7 separate regions of the Homo sapiens genome follow, and all the other regions are linked to region 2. Evidence: promoter capture Hi-C in 16 types of primary human blood cells and fetal thymus (Javierre and others, 2016). All regions are on one chromosome and are shown on one strand. The core of a region is centred on a gene start or on the middle of the fragment in contact, and the rest is flanking DNA. Distances in the headings are between cores, read along the strand shown.

Region 1 (3,335 bases), core at 747-3,246, 560 kb after region 2:
GAGTCAGGCAGACCTGGGTGTAATCCTTGATCTGCCACCTCCCAGCTGTATAAGCTCAGGTGAATCGCTCAGCATTGCATTGCACATTTTAATTGCAGAATGTGATTTTCCATGTCCCTGCACACATCACCAAATTCCGGAAAATGAACCCCTTGTAATGTAAGTGCTATTGTTTGCCAGTGGTTTATCGGATAGCAGGGGAAAATAGCCATGCTGTCATACCATCAGCTCCTTTGACTCAGCATTTAACAGTTTGCCGTGTTTCTATATCATTTGATATTCACAACAACCTGGACTGAGCTGTGCAGAATCGCTGTCCTAATTGCCACTTCACAGAAGAAATTGACAGTCAGAGAAGTTGAGTCCAAGTCAGTACTTTTTCTGCTATACCCAAGTTTTAGGGGTGAACAGGACATTTCAATTATATATTTTGTCTTCTGGACTCAAAATGATATTTAAAAGACAATCAATTGGCCAAGTCTGGTAGCTCATCCCTATAATCCTAGCACTTTCGGAGGCCAAGGTGAGGAATTATTTGAGCCCAGGAGTTTGAGACAAGCCTAGGCAACATGGGAAACCCCCTCTCTACCAAAAAAGATACAAAAATTAGTCAGATGTGGTGGTGCGCACCTGTAGTCCCAGCTACTGGGAAGCTGAGGTGGGAGGATCGCTTCAGCCATCGGGGTGAGCTGAGATTATGCCACTGCACTCCTGGGCGACAAAGCAAGACTTCATCTCAAAAATAAATAAATAAATAAAATAAAACTAACCAATGTTAAAAATAAATAAAGGAATAAAATACAATACACTAAAGCTGCTAGTTTTCTAGTATATTCGATGTTAATCTTTTGAACACCTTCCTGCTTTTGGAGGAACTCCCTATTAGGTGATCTGACTATGAAAACCAAAGAGGACTCTCCCTGCTCCCTGGTTGCTGAACATGGGCACACAATCTAAGAACAGTCAACAGGGTATTCCAACTCAAGTCTGTGGCGATTAAGCAAGCAATCCAATGACACAGAGGAAATTAGGACTTTAACTCAAATGGCAGCAAGTTCACTCCTAGAAGCCTGAGGGTCCAGTGGTGGCAGCAGTGGTGACATAGTGGCAGCCTGCTAGCAAGCACCTTCTGCTGGGGGTCTTCAGCTGTGGCCTAACTCCCTGGGATACATGCATTTCCTGAGCTGGTTCTCTGGTCTTCCATCAATTTTGGAAGCTACTCAGTATCTTTTCAATACGTGCATTTTCTTGTTACAGTATGTTCCTTGCATGCCATAACCCTAAGTGGTACCCCCAGGGAAGCAACCACATGACCTACTGAGATGTTCTCTCTAATGCATCTGGCCTCAGAGTAGGATTTATGGGAAGACTGGTCTGACTTGAGCTCCCTCCAACCTCCAAAGTCTGGAAGACTTTTTTTGTTTTGCTTTGTTTTTTGAGATGGAGCCTTACTCTGTCACCCAGGCTGGAGTGCAGTAGCACAATCTCGGCTCACTGCAACCAGGCTCACTTCCCGGGCTCAAGCAATTCTTCTGCTCAGCCTCTCGAGTAGCTGGGAATACAGGTGCCCACTACCACACCCTGCTAATTTTTGTATTTTTAGTAGAGATGGGCTTTTGCCATGTTGGCCAGGCTGTTCTCGAACTCCCAACCTCAAGTGATCCACCCACCTTGGCCTCCCAAAGTGCTGGGATTACAGGAGTAAGCCACCGTGCCCGGCCTGTAAGACTGAGTCGCAAAGGTGCTTTGAGTCACCTACAGGATAGACCCACATACCAAGGATCACAAAGACAATGGGCCAGCCAGCCTCCTGTGTCCTGCGGACCTATGTCCTGTGTTTACACTGTCAATTCTACCACCACATACAGACAATCTCAATACACATACAATTCATGACAAACCAGAGCCAGTCTAGTAAAAGAATGCCTGAAAGAGCACCGTGAGAGAGCATTTTCAAAATGTTTGTAGTGAGCAGCTACCACTAAGAAGGAAGTGGGCATGGGCTCAGAGCAAAAGAAAGACAAATTCATTAGAAAGCCCGGTGTAGGCTGTTTAAGAGCTTCCTCGTGCAGAGCAGACACTTTGTGATGTCTATAATTTCAGAGTGTTCAGATAAGTCCTGTTATTTATCAAAAGGAAGAGGCCCATAAAACTGCAATTAGGCTATGACGGAATCTTCCCAAACTATTAAAGCCTACCTCCCGTGGGTCTCGCAAGCACACTTCACACATTGAATGGCTTTCAAAGCAGTTTCATAAGCTCACTATTATCATCTTTGTGTTTATTTTATAGATGAGGAAACTGAAACTCAAAGAGGTTAAGTGACTTGCCCAGGGTCACACAGGTATTAAGTGGCAGAACTGGGAATTGAGCCCAGGTCCGCCTGGCTCCAAAAGCCACATTCTTTCCACTAACCCACGGTGCTGTTTTCCTTCCCAAGGCAATTGTCAAGGCAATTGTCAAGATCCTTTGCCAAGAAGTGCTAACAACTCATGTCTGACAGTGGATGAACAGGAAGTCTCTCAGTGGCCTAGTGACATGTGGGAGTGGCAGACCATGAGATGTGAGTGTGTAGGGATGGGCCAGGCTGTCAGAGAGGCCAGGTGATTTCTGGCTTGGTTGTTTTTCTCTGGAAAAAGTCTTGGTGGGGTCATTAATTCAGGAAGTGTGAGGAAGAGAGAGAGGAGCATGGGGTAAGGCTAGGAAGAAGGCAAGGGGAGAGAGAGAGGTTTTGCCCTCATACATAACCTCCTTCCTCTCCTGAATGGAGGTTGCAGGCTCCAAATCTGAAAGAGCAGCTCCCCTCTGGAAAAGCCCCTTCAAAAGCCCCTCACAGCCCCAGCTTTCCCCGACCTCTGAGGCTCTCCTGCAGTGCCTGTCCTGGCAGACACCCTTCCTCATGCCTGTTCCTTGGCTGGACCAGAACCTCTTTGGGGTTGTATTAGGCAACATAGCTAGACATCACTTGGGCTAAGAGGTAGGAAATGGAATAACTTTGAGCCTTGAACAGGGTGTCCTTGGAGATGATTTTATTAACGTGTGACTTGCTTCAATTCAGAGCCCTCTGAGGGCACAGTCTACCCTGCCTGCCAGCAGCCCAGACAGAATGCCTGAAGGAACAGAGGTTTCAATGAAAAGTGCAGCCTCTTGAAGCAAGGACAGAGCTGTCCTTACAAAGGACTGATCTCCCCTGAAGGGACGGCCACATCCCACACTGATTATGAGTTGACTATGATGAAAACACGGGGAACATTCGAGGGACAAGTTTGCCCCACTCTAGATAGTCATTGTGATGAGGGAGCAATAACACACCGGGCCACTTGTCCAACCTCTTA
Region 2 (2,970 bases), core at 31-2,530:
TCTGGTACATTGCACCACTTGTTAAAAAAAAAAATTTCCCTAAGACCTCTTTTTCTCTAGCCTTCTTCCTTATTTTTCATGGTCTCTTCTTAGAACGGCGGCAGCCACGCCGCGGTGGGAGGCCCTTCCTGCCTGACCCTTACCGTGCGGGGTACCGTTCCTGTCACCATCGCCAGGATCTGGCCCTTTCAGTGAAAGGAAATCTCCCAAGGCCTAAGGAGGCAAGAGGCCTGCAAATCGCCTCCTGCTCAGCAAACGGGTTGCTCAGCAGGCCCGGGGTCCTGGTCCACCCCAGGTCCCTGGTTTGCCCACCTCCGATGGCGGCCTTCGCTGGCAGGGTGGGCGCCTCTGGGGAGCCAGCTCCGTCCCGGCGCCTTTAGAGCCCCATCTCTTCCACGTCCCTGGCCTTCCTCCCCTTCCAGGCGGCTGTCCCCGCCGGGGTCCAGATGGTGTCGGAGGGCCGGCGGTTCGACGGCGGGCCCGGGGTTCAGCCTCCCGGCCTCCCTCCGTCCCTGACTCTCCTTTCTTCGGAGAGGGCGCGGGGGCCGGGGCCAAAGCGCCGCTCTTGGGGTTCTCCTGGACTCGGAGTTGCCCCAGGCGGGCGCAGCTCTGCCCCGCGGGGTGCCAGCCTCGGGCGGGCAAGGTCCGTGAGTCACCGCCTGTAACCGAACACCAGGCCTCCCTGCCCCCTCCCCCAGCTCCGGCCGCCAGGCTGCGGCGACACCTACAAGAAAATGAAGGGGCGCCCAGGCCCGCGGCGGCCCCGGCCGTATCGCGAGCAGGTCCCGGCGGCCCCCGGCTCGCGGCGCTCTTTCTTCCCCGGCCCCGGGGCTCGGCCAGCCGCAACCGCCGCCCCGGCGCCAGCAGGAATCCAGGCCGAGCGACCGGCCCCGGAGCCCGAGGCGGCGGAGGGCCCGCGGTAGCTGCGACTGGCGAGCCCGAGAGCGCCCGGGGAGGGGGCGCCCGGCTTGGAATTTCCCGGTCCCTTCCGGCCCAGCGAGGACAAAGCACTCCTGGCCGCCGCCGCCGCCGCCGCCGTGGCCTACGCCGCGCCGCACAAAGGGCGAGTCGCGACACGCTCCCATCCCCCTCCCAGCTCACGGCGGCCCCGGCCCCGGGTGGCTGCAGGGAGGTGGGGGAAGCCCTGGCTGCACCGCCCCTCGCTCCCCCTCCCCTGGGGCCGCGCGAGCGCCGCCCCCGCCCCGTCTGCGCGTCCTCCCGGGGAGGGGTTGGGGGGCGCGGCGCCCCACATAACACTCCCCCTCCTGCGCTGCGAGCCACCCTCTCCCCTCCCTCCTGCAAACACCACCGCCTCCCCTGCCACCGCCGCCACCTCGCCCGACGCTCCACAGCTCGCCGCGGCCGGGGGGCGGTGCGCGGACCGTGCGCGCCGCGGGCGCCAGATGTGCAGTCCCCGCCGCCGCCAGTGACCGAGCCGCAGTCCGAGCGGTATCGGGCCGCCTCCCTGATGCTGCGGGGGCGACCTTGAGCGTACAGCGGCTTCCCTCGGTGGGGACCCCGACATCCCAGCGCTGTGCCCGGTCTTGCCCTCTGTAGCCCGGCTCGCCCCGCGCTTGGACATGGAAGGGGCCGCCGCGCCTGTGGCGGGGGACCGCCCCGACTTGGGGCTGGGGGCGCCGGGCTCTCCCCGAGAGGCGGTGGCGGGGGCGACTGCAGCCCTGGAGCCCAGGAAGCCGCACGGGGTGAAGCGGCATCACCACAAGCACAACTTGAAGCACCGCTACGAGCTGCAGGAGACCCTGGGCAAAGGCACCTACGGCAAAGTCAAGCGGGCCACCGAGAGGTTTTCTGGCCGAGTGGTGAGTGGGGCAATCCTGGAGGGTGCGGGGGGCGCTGGGTGGACGCGGCCGGGGACTGAGGGCGTGCGAGGCGGGGGTCTGTGCGCCCTGGGGCTCTCTTGACAGAGAGGGGGCTCATTGGGAAGCCCCGAGACAGACTCCTCACTCTTTCTCCAGCACCCCGTGACTCAGGCGTGTCTCTGTCCTGAAACACTTGTTACATCCTGTCTGCACATATTTTATTTTATTTTTTGGTTTGTTTTTAAAAATTTAATCCTAGCAGCAAAGGAATGTTTTAGATTTGCAAACACTTTGCAGCGTTGGGACGGCCGGGGTCTCTCTCCCTCGCAGGCACTCATTTAGACCATGCCCCGAAACGTCTTATTTCCACAACTCTCCAAAGAACCACATTCCCAGCTAGGAGCTAGCCCCTCAAGTCCGGTGTTTTGTAGGTGTCCCTACCCCCTTCCACCCATCTGCCCGCAGCTCCTTGCTCTGCATCCTCCCACTCAGACTCTGCATCGCCCTGATACTGCTGTGACTGCAAGGGAGGGCGACTCTTGCCTGTTTTTGAGACAAGGTTAGGGAGCAAAAATAAAGACTACTGCAAGCCTGAGGATTCTAACAGTTTGCATCATGGCTTTGGGAGGACCGAAATGTCCAGGGCATGGGTAGCTACAGAGATAGCTGTGCTTAGTTGCAGCAGGCTCAGTTGTGTTTCAGCTCCTGGTTGCAGGGCTACCAAACCGCTGAAGGGGTCTGGCCCCGCTGCTCTTGTGACAGCTGACACCCTGCCAGGGTCCTGGCACCATTTGCACAGCTCCAAGGAGTGCTTTGAGTGCCTTGGGGTCTGTCTGCCTTGTCCCAGCCTTGGTTTGTTGTTATTTTCACTTCTGCAGAACAGGCCCTTGAAATCCACACTGCTTGTGGCTAGAGAGTTGGGTTCAAAGTGACTGACTGTTGCAGAAAGATTTTGTGTGGTGTGTGGCAGAAAATTAACATGGTTCTTTGATTTGAAGCAGATCAGATGTATTCTAATCGATTTAGGGCCAAAGTCAGAAACTGATTATGGGACTCCTTGTGTGCACTTTTGGGGGTGTTTTGGAGGCTCAGGTTTGCTTATAAACAACAAATGACTGCAGGGAAAAAGGAAAATGAGCTGTCAAATAAA
Region 3 (2,979 bases), core at 168-2,667, 670 kb after region 2:
AGTTTTTCTCATCTGTGAATGGGGCCAATAATATCTACCTCTTAGGGACCGTGGAAAGGATCACATTAGGTAATTAATGTTAGGCTCTTGGCATAATGCCTTGGCACATAGAAAGTACTCAAAAAATGTCACTTCTTAATTAGCTTTGAAAAAGATGGGAATCTGTGGGGACTGTGGAGGGTGGCTGAACAGGAAGTCTTGATTGGCCAGTTGGGAAATTCCAGGGCAGAGGTACGGGATGAGAAGGTTTGATCTGCTGCCAAAAGAACCATGCTGAATGAGATAATTCAGAAAGACCAATTCACAGAATCCAAGTAAAAGGGAAGAAAGACAGGACCAACAAGAGGGTCCTTTGGCCCAAACCTCACTATCACAAAATGCCCCAAGTTTAGATTTTTGCCATTACCTCCATCTGTGTTTATACATAAAATATACGGAGCCACTGCCAACCAATGTGAATTTATATAAACATTTAATTCCACCAATATTTGGGCATTTCTTCCTTTTCAATAAACTAGAGGCTTCAAAACATGGAAATGGCTCAGGCTCTGCTTGACCTCTGAGAGATCCTCTTAGCAGGGTTTAGGTAGACCCAGGTCTGAAATCGAGCCCAGCCTAACAGGGGGGCCTTTCTACTTGGAAACAGCAGCCATGCGCTATCTGACCTAAAGCAGCCATGCTCATAAACTGCATTATGGGATCTGGGCTTATGGTAATGGGACCAATCAGTTTACCTGGTAGAGGAAACAGCATGAGGAAAAGCTCAGAAGGAAGAAAGCAAAGTGTGGGCACAGGGACAGCACATCCTGAAGACTGGTCGAGTGTGGAGTCCAGGAGAGGAGGGGTGGGACCAGGGGCTGGAAACCCACATGGGAACCAGATTGTGGGGAATATGTAAGCCAAAGAGTCATGAAACCTTTGTATAATGCTGGCAATTTACACAACTAACAGCAGAGTGCAAGGCATTTCTCAGCATCACAGCATTTATCCCTTGTTCTGGGACAGCATTCTTTGCTTCCACCACCTCACAAAGCTCTGTCGTTCCTCAAAGTGGTCCTTCCTCTTCCCAGAAACTTCCCAGGAAGAGCATCAGTTGTTTCTTCCCATGCTCCAGGTGTGTTATTGACTCAGCTGTAAAAGAATAATATGCCCAAGGAGCAAAATTTGTCCGTGGCCACCAAGCCATTCATTGCAAAGGTGGTGTCTAGTTTAACTCCTTGGTCCTTCTTAAATGCATCAAACACCTTCTTGTCTATGTCGTCTGTTTGATGAAGGTCAAGTATTAGAGGCTGTTCTGTGATGAAAACCAAAATATAGAGACATGCATAGGAAAAGGAATTTTATCAGGAGAGGCAGTCTAAGAGATATTACTTGGAAGTAGAGAACCTTCTGGGATATTTAGATGGCTTGTGAAGATTATGAGCCAGAATGTTGAAATGGGATTCTCCTAGAAAACCTGGGATGAAAGGAATGGAAGAGACTGCCAGTTGCCTTCCAAATGTCCATTCTCCCTTCGGAGGGAGGAAGCAAGAGATTCCCAATTGTTAGTTTACCCATCCTCCTATCAGACTAAGTACTGGCCAATGTTAGCCAATGTGTTGGATTTCCAGAAAGAATCCATTAAAGAAGCTGATTCACATAGAGCATAAATCCGACTGCTCTTCGGTTTTTCATGCTTCTTCCAAGTAGGAATGCACATGTGACCATCAGAGTCCCAGTAGCCATCCTAGCCCATGAAGTGACCTTGAGCATGAAAGTTATACAATATGGATGATGGTGTAGAAAGAAAGTTGTTGGATCTTTGATGACCATGAAACCACCATGCTGGTCCTGGGCTACGTACCTCTGCATTTCTTTTACAAGAAAAATTTAAATTTTTTGAAAAATCCTTGTGTTTTAACCACTGTCTTTTCTTCCACATGCAGCTGTCTCTAATCCTAACTAATACAGAAAGCTGTTTAGGCCCAACCACAGGAGAACAGACACATCCAAAGCCCATCTCTCCATCTGTCAAATATCTTTGCCAATCTATCTCTGTAATAAATACCTAGCGCCAGCCAGACTCTGAAAGGAGGGATAAAAAAAACATGCAGACTGATCCAGATGGTGCCTGTCTTCTTGGCAAAGTTCATCTTTTAAACGCTACTCCTTCAGAAAAACTTTTGTTAACCCCTAATCCAAATAAAGTCTCTATGTGATTCTCTCCTTAAGCACCTACTATGTTACAATCACTTGTCTCAGGGCCAAAGTACAGTCAGAAAAAAAGAGGATCTTGAAGCCTCTCACAATCTGGTGGCGGGAAAAAGGCATATTAACAAACTATTTCAATATGACATGTGGGCGACAAGCTAGAGGGTCTGTTTGAGAGGATGTGAGAACTCAGAGAAGGGTACTTAGTACCACCCTGGCTGGGCTGTCTTGGGGAGATACCACCAGAGCTGAACCTTGAAGAAATGTAGTCTTAAGGGGCAGATTTCCTAAAAGGAAAGCCTGAGATGGAGATTCTTGTACGATTTATCAATGGAGTGATCATAGAAGAGTCCTGTAGGTGACTGAAGAAAAGTTGAAAGGACAAATGAAAAACAAAGATGAGGAAGTGGCCAGTCGCAGTAGCTCATGCCTATAATCCCAGAACTTTGAGAGGCCACGGCAGGCTGATCGAGCTTGAGTACATGAGTTCAAGACCAGTCTGGGCAACATGGTGAAACTCCCCCTCTACAAAAAATTTAAACAATTAGCCAGGCCTGGTGGCGCATGCATGTATGCATGTAGCCCCAGCTACTCTGGATGTTAAGGTGGGAGGATTACTTAAGCTCAGGTGGTCAAGGCTGCAGTGAGCTGAGATTGTACCACTGCACTCCAGGCTGGGTGACAGAGTAAGACCCTGTCTCAAAACAAACAAAAAAACAAAATGTGGAACCACTGTATTCTAGTGTCAGCCTGATCTTACATGGAGCTCTGAGTGTGAGTAGTCCCACA
Region 4 (3,019 bases), core at 490-2,989, 750 kb after region 2:
GGAAAGAAGGAAACAAATAAATCTGGGGCTTCTAATGCCATCAGTAAGTTAAATGAGCATGGATGAGATTCCATTCTATGCTCAGCAGAAAGGTAAATGGCAATGAATTACATGACAACCTCCACTGTGCCCTGTGTGCACCTCCACAGCATCAATGTTAGAGAGAACTGGTGCTTTTAGGTGAAGGACACGTGGGGGCAGCTGCCTGTTTTCCATGAAGCAGCCTGTGCTGTCACTGCACTACTCATCTTCAAATTAGAGTCCGCACCAAGCTCGACTTTCCATGGAGCACCCAGTGACCTAGCCATTCCCTAGAAGGTTATTTCATATTTCATCGGCTTTCTATGCACTGGCTTCTAGTGCTCTATTTGTTAAAAAAATAATAATAATCAATCCCCAAAATGTACTCCCTCCCACCCCCAATAATTTCCATTCATATTGGACTTGATTATTTAAATTTAATTTGTTAGAAGTTCAATATTTTATTTTGCATGATTAGCCTTTTAATCAAGTTGTGAGAGTTCAAAAATATTCACACTATTGCATTTCTTTTTATTGGTTTGGGGGTTTTTTTGTTTTTGTTTTTGTTTTTTTTGCTTTTTTGGAGTTTGTTTGTTTGTTTGAGAGAGGGTCTCACTCTGTCCCCCAGGCTGCAGTGCAATGGTCCAATCTTGGCTCACTGCAGCCTCAACCTCCCAGACTCAGAAGATCCTCTCGCTTCAGCCTCCCTGGTAGCTAGGACTACAGGTGCACACCACCAGACCCGGCTAATTTTTCGCCATGTTGCCAAGGCTGGTCTCAAATTCCTAGGCGACCCACCTGCCTCAGCTTCCCAGAGTGTTGAGATTACAGGCGTGAGCCACCACACCCAGCCTATTGCATTTCTTAACACAATACGTATACTTTATTTTTTTAAATGCAATGTTGTCCTAGTCCTTGCAGGCTGCTATAACACAGTATCATAGACTGGGTGGCTTACAAATAACAAAAAAACATATTTCTCACAGTCCTGGAGCCTGAGAAGTTCAAGATCAAGGAACTGGCAGATTCAATGTCTGGTGAGGGCCCCTTTCCGGGTTCACAGAGGACAACTTCTTGCTGTGTCCTCACTTGGTAGAAGGGATGACCAAGCTCCTTCAGGCCTCTTTCCTAAGGGCCTGAATCCCTATGACCTAATCACTTCCCAAAGGCCCCACCTCTGAATACCATCGAGTTCGTGGTTAGGATTTCAACACATGAATTGGGGTGGCGGGGAGCACACAAGCATTCAGACCATAGCAAATGTAAAGAATTTGTCTACAAGAAAATCCACACATTGGTCATGCTCTCGTCTTCATCTGTGTCCCTGATTCTTTCATTTCTGTTGGCATCCAGCAGCATGATGGACTTTGTATGGAAGTGCTGAGCAAGAGGCCAGCACTTCAAACAGTGCAAGACACTTAGGGGCTCAGGGCGTAGATGCATGAGGAAATGAGCAGCTTAATAAGCTACATGGATAGCTGTGGGTGCCAGCCCAGTTCCTCATCCCCACTGCTCATGCTCAGACCTGGGAAAATGTGGGGAAGATATATGGGGACCCTGGTTACCTCTAGACAGCTGCATCCTAATATAAATACTCAATCTGCCCATTTACTCTTCCTTCCCCTCTCCCAGGATCTCCCCAGTACACTCAAGAGTGAAATGGGCTATGGGCTGACCTTCCATTAGCCTCTGGAGAAATGAAGACTTATGCCCTGACTTAAGAAGTGTCTAGAAAACTATGAATACATAAGCATAGCTCATTGTTTGATATAGTGTATATTTTGTCATGCAAGTGATTGATGCCTGTTGAAAATGAGAGTAGCTCAAGTGTAAACAAGGATCCACATGGCCCATGGCAATGTCTTCATCACAGAACCAATCCTGTAACACTAACAATGACGATGAGGTTAGGGGACACTCGCTATGTGCCAGGCCCTCTCTAACCATCCTCCCTGCATTAATTCATGTGATTCTCACACTTCTCTAAGAAGTAGGAACTATTTTTCTCTAGTTCTTGATTCTCTTATTTGTAAAATGGAAAGAATATTTGTTTCCATTTTATTTTAATTTATTTATTTATTTATTTATTTATTTATTTATTTATTTATTTCCTGAGACAGGGTCTCACTCTGTCCAGCAGGCTGGAGTGCAGTGGCACGATCACAGCTCGCTGCAGCCTTGACCTCCCTGGACTCCCATCTCAGCCTCCCAAGTAGCTGGGACTACAGGCGTGCGCCACCATGCCTGGCTAATGTTTTTGTATTTTTTGGAGATGGGGTTTCACCATGTTGCTCAGGCTATTTGTTCCCATTTTATAGGACATTTTAAATTTTTTTTTTTTTTTTTTTGAGACAGAGTCTTGCTTTGTCGCCCAGGCTGGAGTGCAGTGGCGCGATCTCGGCTCACTGCAAGCTCTGCCTCCCGGGTTCATGCCATTCTCCTGCCTCAGCCTCCCGATTAGCTGGGACTACAGGCGTCCGCCACCACGTCCGGCTAATTTTTTGTATTTTTTAGTAGAGATGGGGTTTCACCATGTTAGCCAGGATGGTCTCGATCTCCTGACCTCGTGATCCGCCTGCCTCGGCCTCCCAAAGTGCTGGGATTACAGGCGTGAGCCACCGTGCCCGGCCAGGACATTTTAAATCTTATGTAATAGGATTTTTGTAGAAATTTAATGAGTTCATACATGCCATGTAGTAAGCACTTGATATGTATTCGTTTTTAATATTTTATTATTGATACTGTCTCCATTTTACAGGTTAAGAAACCGAGACGCAGAGAAGTTAAGTAAATTGCCCAAGTTACACAGCTAGTAAGTGGCAAAGCCAGAACATAAACTTCCTGCTATTATGAAGACACTGCTGAATCCTGCAATCCATGAATATCTGTGTTAAGGAAAGTGAGAGATGGATTACTCCTGCCAATAATAAAGGGGGGAAAACAAAGCTGCTATTAGAAGATGAGTCCACCAGGGGGAAGTAGATGCATGCATTACTTA
Region 5 (3,224 bases), core at 171-2,670, 660 kb after region 2:
CCCCTTTTCATCTCAGAGGGTTATTGTGATGCTGAACTGAGATCATGTTCAAGGAAGCTCTTTGTAAACCAGGAGGCACTGTCCAAACATGAGGGCTTATGAGGGCCCAGATCTCATCAACTAAAGAATGATATGGTCAACAGTGTCCAATTCTATGCTGCTCAATACAGTACTTCACACACTCAAGGAGCATTTGCTGAAAGCCTGGTGTTTCCCAAGCTGGTCTTGAACTTCCAAGCTCAAGCAATCTTCCTACTTCAGCCTCCCAAAGTGTTGGGATTACAGGCATAAGCTACCATGCTCAGCTCAAAAAACAAAACAAAACAAAACAAAACAAAACACACTTCTTGAATGACAGAATTGCACCACGGAAGAGAAGGAACAGAGTTTGGTGAGCAGGTAGCAAGCACCCCCTTCCCTCTGCCTCTCTCTGCACAGCATCCCCCAAGTATCCCCCAAACTTGCACACACCCACATACATAACACCACTCCCACTAAATAGACCCCAGACACCACAGCCTTCCAAAAACTTCTATTTTTTTCTATCCTTGCACATTCTGCTTCCATGTTCTTCAGCCCCTCCCAACAGCCCCCAAGCTTCGTGACTCTTCTAGCTCCACTAAACTATTTCCCTCTCCAAGTACTAAAATGCTAAGTATTTATTTTAGGATGGAAGAAAATTACAGCCTGTAATTAGCACATTTTTTGAACATATTGCCTAAACCACTGCTGTGTGGTGGAGCCAAGAACAAGCAGTAGTAAAATTAACAAGGTTTATTAAACAGAAGAAACCATTCAGAGCTGAGCTAATGCAACAATCACATGGAAGTCCCTCCTCTCTCCTGGGGCAGCTCTCTCGATCATCCCTTAAAGAGGAATGACACTCTCCTCTGAAAGCCAAACTATGCATGTCACAAACAGGGATCAGGGAAGAGAGCTGGATTTATAACTCAGCTCTAAGATCCATGAGCTGTGTGACCATAAGTTAGTCAAACAACCTCTCTGAGTCTGTTTCCCACCTACAAAATAACGAAAACCTGTCTGATATACCTGATAAGTAACAGGACTACTATCTTCACATCCATGCATTCAGGATCTAATACACTAATACATGCTAAAATGTTTTCTAAACTTGAAGGCCTATATCCTTTTAGGTTATTATTCAACATTTTTCTCTTTCTATCTTCTTTCTCTCTCCCCAACAACTCTCACACACTCCTCTCTCCAAGGCCTTGGTGTAGGACTGTGTCAGCTAAATAGGAGGGGTGACTTTCCCTAATTTGAACAAAGATGTCATATGGGTGAGTGGTCCTAATCTGGGATGCATGGAATGGAAAGCAACAGAATCACAGGGGAGTGCTAACAACATCACCTGGGGCAGATGGGAATGGCTTCTGGCAAAACGCACCATTTGAACGAATTACCTTTTGGAGAAGTCATTTGCCAGGGAGAGAAGGTAGGAAAGGGCCTTCCCATAAAAGGAAAACTCATTGAGGAAACACAGAAATATGAAAACCTACGGCCAGTTTGGGAAATGGCAAGTTGGTCCTTCCGGCTGAAGCCGTAGGAAGGTTGAATAATGCTGAATGCTGGGAATTTATTAGATGTCTAGTCATGCATTTCTTAAATATCTCATCTACTGAGTGTCAGGTCCTGGGTGCTAGGCCCTGAAAAGTTTTTAAAGGATTGTTGAGAGATATTATTCAGAAAGAAAGTAAATGTCCTTCTAATTGTGAATTCCAAGAGTCTTATTTCTCAATGCAACATCCAGCCATGCCCACTGGATCTAGGAATGTAGGTTGTGGCATGATGTCAACAATGAGGCTCCCCCAAACAATATGGGTTTCAGATTTTTCTCTGAGACTTCAACCAGTGAAATGTACAGACACTGTGGATTTCTAGGCGGTAACCACACATGGGAATAAGCCAAGAATCTTCTTTAATCCAGATAGATTGGATGTGACCTTAGGAAGGCAGACTGAAAGAGTTTAACATGTGGAAATTTTTGCTAGTGTGTTGTACCCAGTCTGGAGAAAGACTACGTAAAGAGCAGAGGATGATCAGATCAAAATCTACCCTACAGGGGCAAGAAGTTGGGCCATCCAAGTGCCACCCAGTGGAAAAGCGGTTCTATGCCTGCCACTCAGACACCAGTAGCATCAGCTGGGAGCTGGTTAGAAATGTGGAATTTCAGGCCCCTCCTCCCGACCCACCAAATCAGAATCTACTTTTTCATAAGCTTTCTGGAAAATCTGTATGCATATTGCATTTTAAGAATCACGACTCTAGACTTTTTCCTATAAAGCGTCAGAGATGAATATCTTAGGCTTAGCAGGCCTTACGGTCTCTGTCCCAACTACTCAGTGCTGCTGTTGCAGCATGAAAACAGCCACAGGCAAGATGTAAATGAACGAGTCTATTCACTTGAATGGCTCTATTTTAACAAAACTTTATTTATGGACACTGAAATTTGAATTTCTTATGATTTTTACATATTATAAAACAGCATTCTTTACTTTTTTTTCAGCCACTGAAAATGTATAAACCATTCTTAGCTCAGAGGCCATACAGAAACAGGTAGTGGGCCATATTTGCCCCCCAGGTCAGTTTGCCAACTCCTGCTTAGACCACAAACTTGAGTATCTATGCCAACGCAGTGCCCTAGGTAATTTCTCCAGTTCCAAAACTCTTCTAGTTCTCTTTGTATAATACATCCCTTAAATATGATGCTGGTTTGTACATCAGTCTCCTATGCACAGTTAATGTGAGTCAGCCCTGAGAAGCCACTTCTGCTGTACTGATAAATCAGGTATCCGAAGGACAGATAGAAGAATGTGGTAAATACACAAAGATGAAGTCCTCCCTATGAGGCTTGTGGGTGGAAAATTAGCTGCCTTCCCTGTCAGGAGCCCTCCACTGCCAAACACCTTGTATTTAAACCAGCACAAGAATGCCTGGGCTGCCTTACAGATCAACTCCCACCAAAGCAGAATTAGGGATGTTCTTTCATATACAACTAAATTACACAAATTTAAGTAGCCTTCAAATCCAAAATGTATCCTTAAAACAGTAGTTTTATAACTGAGATCTTTGTATATATTGTAGTTCCTTATAAATTACTTGGGGAAAAAAGTGTTCAGCTATCAACATGAAAACACTTTAGAAACCTCTGTTCTAGAATAATCCATCTCATTTCATTTCAGATTATCTCTCTTAGCACTCTG
Region 6 (3,470 bases), core at 383-2,882, 730 kb after region 2:
GATGGAAGAATAGAATCTGCTTCTTAAGAGGTGGGTCTACAAAATACTGTGCCCATTTTTTTCTCCTCATTCCTTCTGCTGCTGAGACTTTTGCCGGCTGAGAGCCCTCAACTGTTATCTCTCTCCAGAAATTCCTCTTTTTCCCTGAAGAAAGCTGCCTCACTGAAGGACACTCCACCTTCCCAAGGGCAGCCTACAATGGTAAGTGGCTGTCTTAGTCCATTTGGGCTGCTACAACAAAGTGCCATGGACTGGGTGGCCTAAGAACAACAGAAACTCATTTCCCACAGTTCTGGAGGCTGGAAGTTGAGGGTCAGGGTGCCAGCACCATTGAGTTCTGGTGGAGGTTCTCTCTGGGTTGCAGTTGGTCATCTTCTCATTTTATCCTCACGTGCCAGAAAGAGAGCAAGAGAGATTTCTGGGGTCCCTTTTATAAAGGCATTAATCCCACTCATGAGGGTTTCATCCTCAGGACCTAATCACTTCCCAAAGGCCCCATCTCCATCACATTTGGGGGTTAGGATTTCAGCATGAATTTTTGGAGAGACACGAACATTCAGCCCACTGCACTAGTCAATACAGGAATATAAAGGCATAGGCCATTGCCCGAACCTGGGACAAGTCTGAAGGTTCAGAGCTTCCCAAAGGGGTCAGCTGAGGCCTTAGATGAAACTGAATTGCAATCCAACACCTCTCTCTTCTCGATCTCGCTTCCTGCCCTGCCACCACAGGTGTCCATGCTGAGCACACCTCCTGGTGAACCTATGCACTCAAATCTCTGTCCAGCACCTGCTTCCTGGGGAATCAACCGAACAGATGATGCCAGGAGTAGTCTGAGAAAGAAGATGCTAAGATGGGATCTGAGGCTGCCAGCTGACCACTGACAGGCAATGAGATCCCCGTTACCGTTGGTACACCGAGCTGATAAAGCCCCTGACACAAGATGGTGATGAAACTGGCAAAACTTCCAATGGTGTTAAAATGGAATGGGATACAGGTGGAAGGAAAATGTATTTGGTGTTAAAAATATATGGGAAATAGTCATTACAAGGGCAGTGGAATTAAATGGCTGTCACTGGAGAACAATGTTTGCTTTGGAAAAAGATGACAAAAGACTGAGGGTGACTACCAGTCAATTAAAAACTGAACACAAAAGCTCAAGTGCCTCCTTAGCATGGTTAAAAAAAATTTTAAAAAAAGACTCTTATCTCCTGTAGCAAAGGAGGTTAAATTCTCAACCTTAGGTAGATTTGCTATGATAGGGTCAGGACCCTGGCTGGGAAAGCAATGTGACCTTGAGGGATGACAGCTGGGTTAATGCCTCTGAAAAAGCATGAATCCTCTGATTTCTCTGAATGCCTGGGCCTGCAAAATGGCCTCGTCTTGTTAAGTTCCATCCCTGTTTCCTCCTGGAAGGGGATGCCGAGGCCTCTCCCATGTAAGAGAACGTGTGTACCACTGTGATCTGCCCATACTTCCCACTGGCCTCTAAGCCAGGTGCACATCCCAGCAACACAACCCAGCTGTGGAGGTGCTGAACCTTATAAGGAGGAAAAGGACTCTACCCTGTAGGAGCTACAGAATCCTGCCAAGTCTTATCAGAAAAGAGACTGCATTCGAAGGGTGCTGGAATGAGGAAGGTGTGAGAATTAGAAAACAGCACTGGATAAAAGAGAATGTATCATTATGGGGGCACTTTCTCTGAATATAGGATTTAATACCCTGGCAGGGACCCTGAGAGACACTGCAAACATGCTGATAGGATGGCTCCTGGAAGCATGGAGAAAACAAGTTGTTGGGTTTTCTTAAGTATTCCATCTTGGCTGGGCATGATGGCTCACGTCTGTAATCCCAGTGCTTTGGGAGGCTAAGGCAGGAGGATAAGGACACATCTAGCAGCAGGATTAGAGAAAACAACTTGGAGGTGAAGCCAAACGCAGGACTCCACTCCTTCCTCCCTGAATTAAATGCACACCCATGCCTGGGCAACACAGCAAGACCTCGTCTCTACAAAAAAATAAAATAAATATAAATATATAATAAATAAAAAATTAGCCAGGTGTGGTGGCACGTGCCTGCAGTATTCCAGCTATTCAAGAGGCTGACGTGGGGGATCACTTGAGCACAAGAGGTCAAGGCTGCTGTGAGCTGTGATCATGCCACTGCAATCCAGCCTGGGTGACAGAATGAGACCCTCTCTCAGTGTATTAGGCCGCTCTCACACTGCTGTAAAGACATACCTGAGACTGGGTAATTTATAAAGAAAAAGAGGCTTAATGGACTTACAGTTCCACGTGGCTTGGGAGGCCTCACAATCATGGCAGAAGGTGAAAGGCACATCTTACATGGCGGCAGGCAAGAGAGAGAATGACAGCCAAGTGAAAGGGGTCTCCCCTTATAAAACCATCAGATCTCTTCTGAGTTATTCACAACCGTGAGCACAGTATAGGGGTAATCACCCCCATGATTCAATTATCTCCCACCAGGTCCTTCCCACAACACGTGGTAATTACGGGAGCTATAATTCAAAATGAGATTTAGGTGGGGACACAGAGCCAAGCCATATCACTCAAAAAAACAATAAAAATAAATATATGTATACCCAGTGTCAGGTATAACTGCAGATTGCCTTTTTCCCTCCTGGCAACTCCTCCAGATGCTCATCCTGCTCTAGGCTCTTTCCCCATGGAGGAGGCAGCTGTGAAGGCAACATAGCTTGGACAAACCCTGCCCCTGAGTTCAGAAGGGGCTATGCTGGCTATGGTCACTTCCCCTGATCTCAATCTCCCCCATGAGATATGTCCTTCCTCCCCTGGGAGACACATTAGTAAAAGAGGTGGAGATAAGGACAGGGGAAAGAGAAGGACAGAAGAGAGAGAAATGGAGCTCCTTCCTCTCCTGTCCCACAGAAGTCAGGGCTGGGTAGGGCAGGTATTAAGAAGCCCAATTATGGCACTGGCCCTGGGTGTGGAAGGCATTATGATCTTTATAAATGATCATAGCATTCATAGCTACCATTTGTTGAATTATCTGATGTGCCAGACATTGTGCTATTCACAATAGCAAAGACTTGGAACCAACCCAAATGCCCATCAATGATAAAGTGGATAAAGAAAATGTGGCACATATACACCGTGGAATACTATGCGGCCATAAAAAAGGATGAGTTCATGTCCTTTGTAGGGACATGGATGAAGCTGGAAACCATCATTCTCAGCAAACTAACACAAGAACAGGAAACTAAACACCGCATGTTCTCACTCATAAGTGGGAGTTGAACAGTGAGAACACATGGACACAGTAAGGGGAACATCACACACCAGGGCCTGTCAGGGGTGGAGGGCTAGGGGAGGGATAGCATTAGGAGAATACCTAATGTAGATGACAAGTTGATGGGTGCAGCAAACCACCATGGCTTGTGTATACCTATGTAACAAACCTGCACGTTCTGCACATATACTTTAAGTACC
Region 7 (2,977 bases), core at 274-2,773, 630 kb after region 2:
CCAGTCTGACAGAGGCATCAGTGTGGCCTGGGTGCTCTCCCCACTGTATTCCCGCAAGCTCTCTGCCTGTGCTCCAGCCAACTTGCCTGGGTCGGGAACTTGCCAGGTGCCATCTTTGTGATCAGAATTTTCAAGAAATTTTATTAAGAACCTAAGGGAAATTTAATCTAGACTTGCAATGCAGTTGGACTCAGTGGCATGCACCTGTAGTCGCAGCTACTTGGGAGACTGAGGGAGGAGGAATGCTTGAGGCCAGGAGTTCAAGGCCAACCTGGGCAACATAGTGAAACCCTGTCTCTAAAAAAACAAAAAATGAATAAAAGTAGCTGGGCACAGTAGCGCACCTGTAGTCCCAGTACTCAGGAGGTTGAAGTAGGAGGATTGCTTGAGCCCAGGAGTTGGAGAGCAACTTGGCGATATATAACAGGACTTCATCTTAAAAAACATTTTTTTAATTTTTAAAAAAACCTTGCGAATGCTATAGAAAGAACACAGATTGAGGGGGTAAAGCAGTTGTGTCACCTGTGTGGCAGAGCCTTTTGATGGTCTCCTTAGATGCATTTTCCCTTCATTCCTCCATAATAGAACCTCCAAATCTTGATTGGGCACATAGCCACCAGAATAAATACTACATTCCCTGAGTTCCCTCGCTGTTAACTATGGATGTATATAACAAAGTTCTAACCAATAGAATATAAAAGGATATGACTTGTGTCATCCTTAGGTGTGTAAATCCTTATGTACTTATGATATGGCTTGTGTAACTTTCATGATGTATTCTTAAATGCAATGCTTCTTCCAATTTCTTTTCTTTTTCTCTTTCCTGTGAGCTGGACTGAAGTTATGATGGCTGGAGCTAGAGCCGCCACCCTGGACCACAAAGTAGAACTCTTGGATTAAGGAGGACAGGGCAACAAAATGGATAGAGCCTTCGTTCATTGCTGATCATGGGTCCATCATTTCAGCCCTAGGCTACCAATGTTTATATGAAAAAATAAACTTGTACCTTATTTAAACCACTGGTTTTGGCAGGGAAGCAGGGATGTTCTCTCACTCATTTTCCACCAACTCCAAATGGAGGAGATCAGAATCTACGATCACTAAGTCCATTTCTGGTCCGAAACACCAGTGGTTCTAGTTAAAGTCATAGATATGTTTACAGAGTGCAGATTTCTGAGTTTAGCTTCAAATTCAGCAGCATAGGCCGGAATAACTGGCACAGCCGAAGGAAGTGTAGGGCTCTGATTCCTTTTCTCCCCATCACTCTGTGTTTAGTGGCCAGGGGGCGCTAAGGACAGGCAGAGTGGAGCCAAAACAAAAGTAAAACTGGTATCACTTATGGAGTCCTTGCCTTGTGCTGAACTTCATTTAATCTTCACAACAGCCCAGGGAAGCAAGTGCTATTACTATCTCCTTTCATGGTCGAGGAAACCGAGGCTCATAGAGGCATGTCAGGAATTGCCAGGATCCAACCATGGTGTGTCTGACTTCAGAGCCGGCTGTCTCCCAAAACGACATCTCAACATGGGAAATCCAGAGATAAAAACCCACCTAGGTAAGCCAGTGTGTACATGCCTATGTGGAAGGGGGAATGGGTAGAAGCAAGGAGGCCAAAGAAGAAAAACTAGCCCATCACAAATCCTTCTTCCATGCCCAAAGCCAGAGACACCATATGCCCATACACCTTTGCTTGAGTATTATCCAGCTGGTGTAGTGGAAAATGACAGTTCCCTGGAACTGCATGGGAGATCTCAGGACAGGACAAAAACCTGGCCAGTGGGAGATACTGGGGCTGGGAAATGAGTCCCTGCCCCCTGGCACATTGAACAAAGGAGAGACACGCCTGGTTTGTCTATAGAGAGCAACTTGCTTTTTATTCCCTCTTAAAATCAATTCAACTCAACCCCATGCCTGCCAGAAATACATAAGGCATGACCCCACCCTCAAGGAGAACACAATACAATGAATATAGCTGAGATATTCATGCATCCTCAGTAGGGAAGGTTTTATTGTCCTCATCTTACCAACCAGGAAGCTAAAGATCAGAGAGATTGAGTGACTTGCAGAAAACATATGGTGGAGCCAGGATTTGAACTCTGTTCCAAAGGCCCCAAAACCTGTACAACTCCATGCTGAAAATTAGCCTCCTAAATGAGATTAGAGTCCTAATCTCAAAGCCAATGCCTCCTTCTAAGAGCAAAGTCCATTTAAAAAAAAAAAAAAGATCATCATTTCTTCCAGCTCTTGTTTGTAGACATCAGCGTAGAATCACCAACCCTCTTGTCTAGATGGTACCTTGGAGAATATCTAGACCAACAATCAACTTACAGTTGAAAAATATGAGTCCTGGAGTGATCACAACCTTACCAATGATCCCACAGCTCTCTTTGGCAGAGCCACCATCAAACAGAAGGTGCTGACTCCTGTACTGCACCAACCTGCTGCTTCTATACTGGAATGAGCCTACATAAACCCGTGGGTCAGCCTGTGAGTTCCAGAATCAGACAATCTTGGGTTCAAATCTTGGCCTTGCCACATTTGTACCATGTGACATTAGCCTCCCTATATCTCACTTTTCCTTAGGCACACTTGGGCATAATCATAGTAACTGTGATGAGAAGCAAAGAAGGCGATGCACAAAAATGATGTGCTTGGTGCCTGGCACACAGTAATTCCCTGGCAAACGCCACTGCGCAGGCCACTCCCCTCTCAACCAGCACATCCCAAACAAGGGCATCAGAGAAGGATACAATTAAATCAGCACATAAAACATGAGCATTTTCCCTCATCTCAAGCTGACAGATGAATACAGCCTGGAGATTATATATCATGTCTCAGAGAAATAATTCTAAACAAGGAGACACTGAGCCAGAGCACTGGAGCCTCCCACCCCCTTGGTTCACCTTCTTATCTGCTAAGGCATCATTCAGCCTGTGCCTTCACACCTCACCCAGGTGTAACAATCAGGTTCCAGTCT

The links. The method cuts DNA at HindIII sites, captures the fragments that hold promoters and counts their contacts. A CHiCAGO score of 5 or more calls a contact.
Region 1: a contact is called between a fragment that was not itself captured here and the fragment with the promoter of NUAK1 in region 2, in 1 of 17 cell types (endothelial precursors). The highest score is 6.9, in endothelial precursors.
Region 3: a fragment that was not itself captured here is called in contact with the fragment with the promoter of NUAK1 in region 2 in 7 of 17 cell types (endothelial precursors, M2 macrophages, M0 macrophages and 4 more); the score reaches 10.1 in endothelial precursors.
Region 4: a fragment that was not itself captured here is called in contact with the fragment with the promoter of NUAK1 in region 2 in 1 of 17 cell types (neutrophils); the score reaches 5.5 in neutrophils.
Region 5: a fragment that was not itself captured here is called in contact with the fragment with the promoter of NUAK1 in region 2 in 1 of 17 cell types (endothelial precursors); the score reaches 9.9 in endothelial precursors.
Region 6: a contact is called between a fragment that was not itself captured here and the fragment with the promoter of NUAK1 in region 2, in 15 of 17 cell types (M1 macrophages, total CD8 T cells, neutrophils and 12 more). The highest score is 12.7, in M1 macrophages.
Region 7: a contact is called between a fragment that was not itself captured here and the fragment with the promoter of NUAK1 in region 2, in 1 of 17 cell types (endothelial precursors). The highest score is 5.9, in endothelial precursors.

Annotation. Positions count from the first base shown.
Region 1 is chr12:105,580,097-105,583,431 of GRCh38, reverse strand. No RefSeq gene overlaps it. Among named protein-coding and RNA genes, the nearest start is that of CASC18, 120 kb to the left of the region's middle. The HindIII fragment of the contact is 5,427 bases long and covers 1-3,335 here.
Region 2 is chr12:106,137,264-106,140,233 of GRCh38, reverse strand. It overlaps NUAK1 (NUAK family kinase 1), which reads left to right and starts at 1,280. Exons shown (of 7, transcript NM_014840.3): 1 at 1,280-1,820. The coding sequence starts at 1,581. RefSeq lists an enhancer at 2,350-2,851. The HindIII fragment of the contact is 5,150 bases long and covers 1-2,970 here.
Region 3 is chr12:105,463,655-105,466,633 of GRCh38, reverse strand. No RefSeq gene overlaps it. Among named protein-coding and RNA genes, the nearest start is that of C12orf75, 130 kb to the right of the region's middle. The HindIII fragment of the contact is 7,273 bases long and covers 1-2,979 here.
Region 4 is chr12:105,383,506-105,386,524 of GRCh38, reverse strand. All of the region lies in intron 1 of LOC105369957 (a long non-coding RNA gene), which reads right to left. Among named protein-coding and RNA genes, the nearest start is that of C12orf75, 54 kb to the right of the region's middle. The HindIII fragment of the contact is 8,197 bases long and covers 1-3,019 here.
Region 5 is chr12:105,480,728-105,483,951 of GRCh38, reverse strand. No RefSeq gene overlaps it. Among named protein-coding and RNA genes, the nearest start is that of C12orf75, 150 kb to the right of the region's middle. The HindIII fragment of the contact is 1,642 bases long and covers 600-2,241 here.
Region 6 is chr12:105,404,002-105,407,471 of GRCh38, reverse strand. All of the region lies in intron 2 of LOC105369957 (a long non-coding RNA gene), which reads right to left. Among named protein-coding and RNA genes, the nearest start is that of C12orf75, 75 kb to the right of the region's middle. The HindIII fragment of the contact is 5,484 bases long and covers 1-3,470 here.
Region 7 is chr12:105,502,795-105,505,771 of GRCh38, reverse strand. All of the region lies in intron 1 of LOC105369958 (a long non-coding RNA gene), which reads right to left. Among named protein-coding and RNA genes, the nearest start is that of C12orf75, 170 kb to the right of the region's middle. RefSeq lists an enhancer at 1,147-1,441. The HindIII fragment of the contact is 3,450 bases long and covers 1-2,977 here.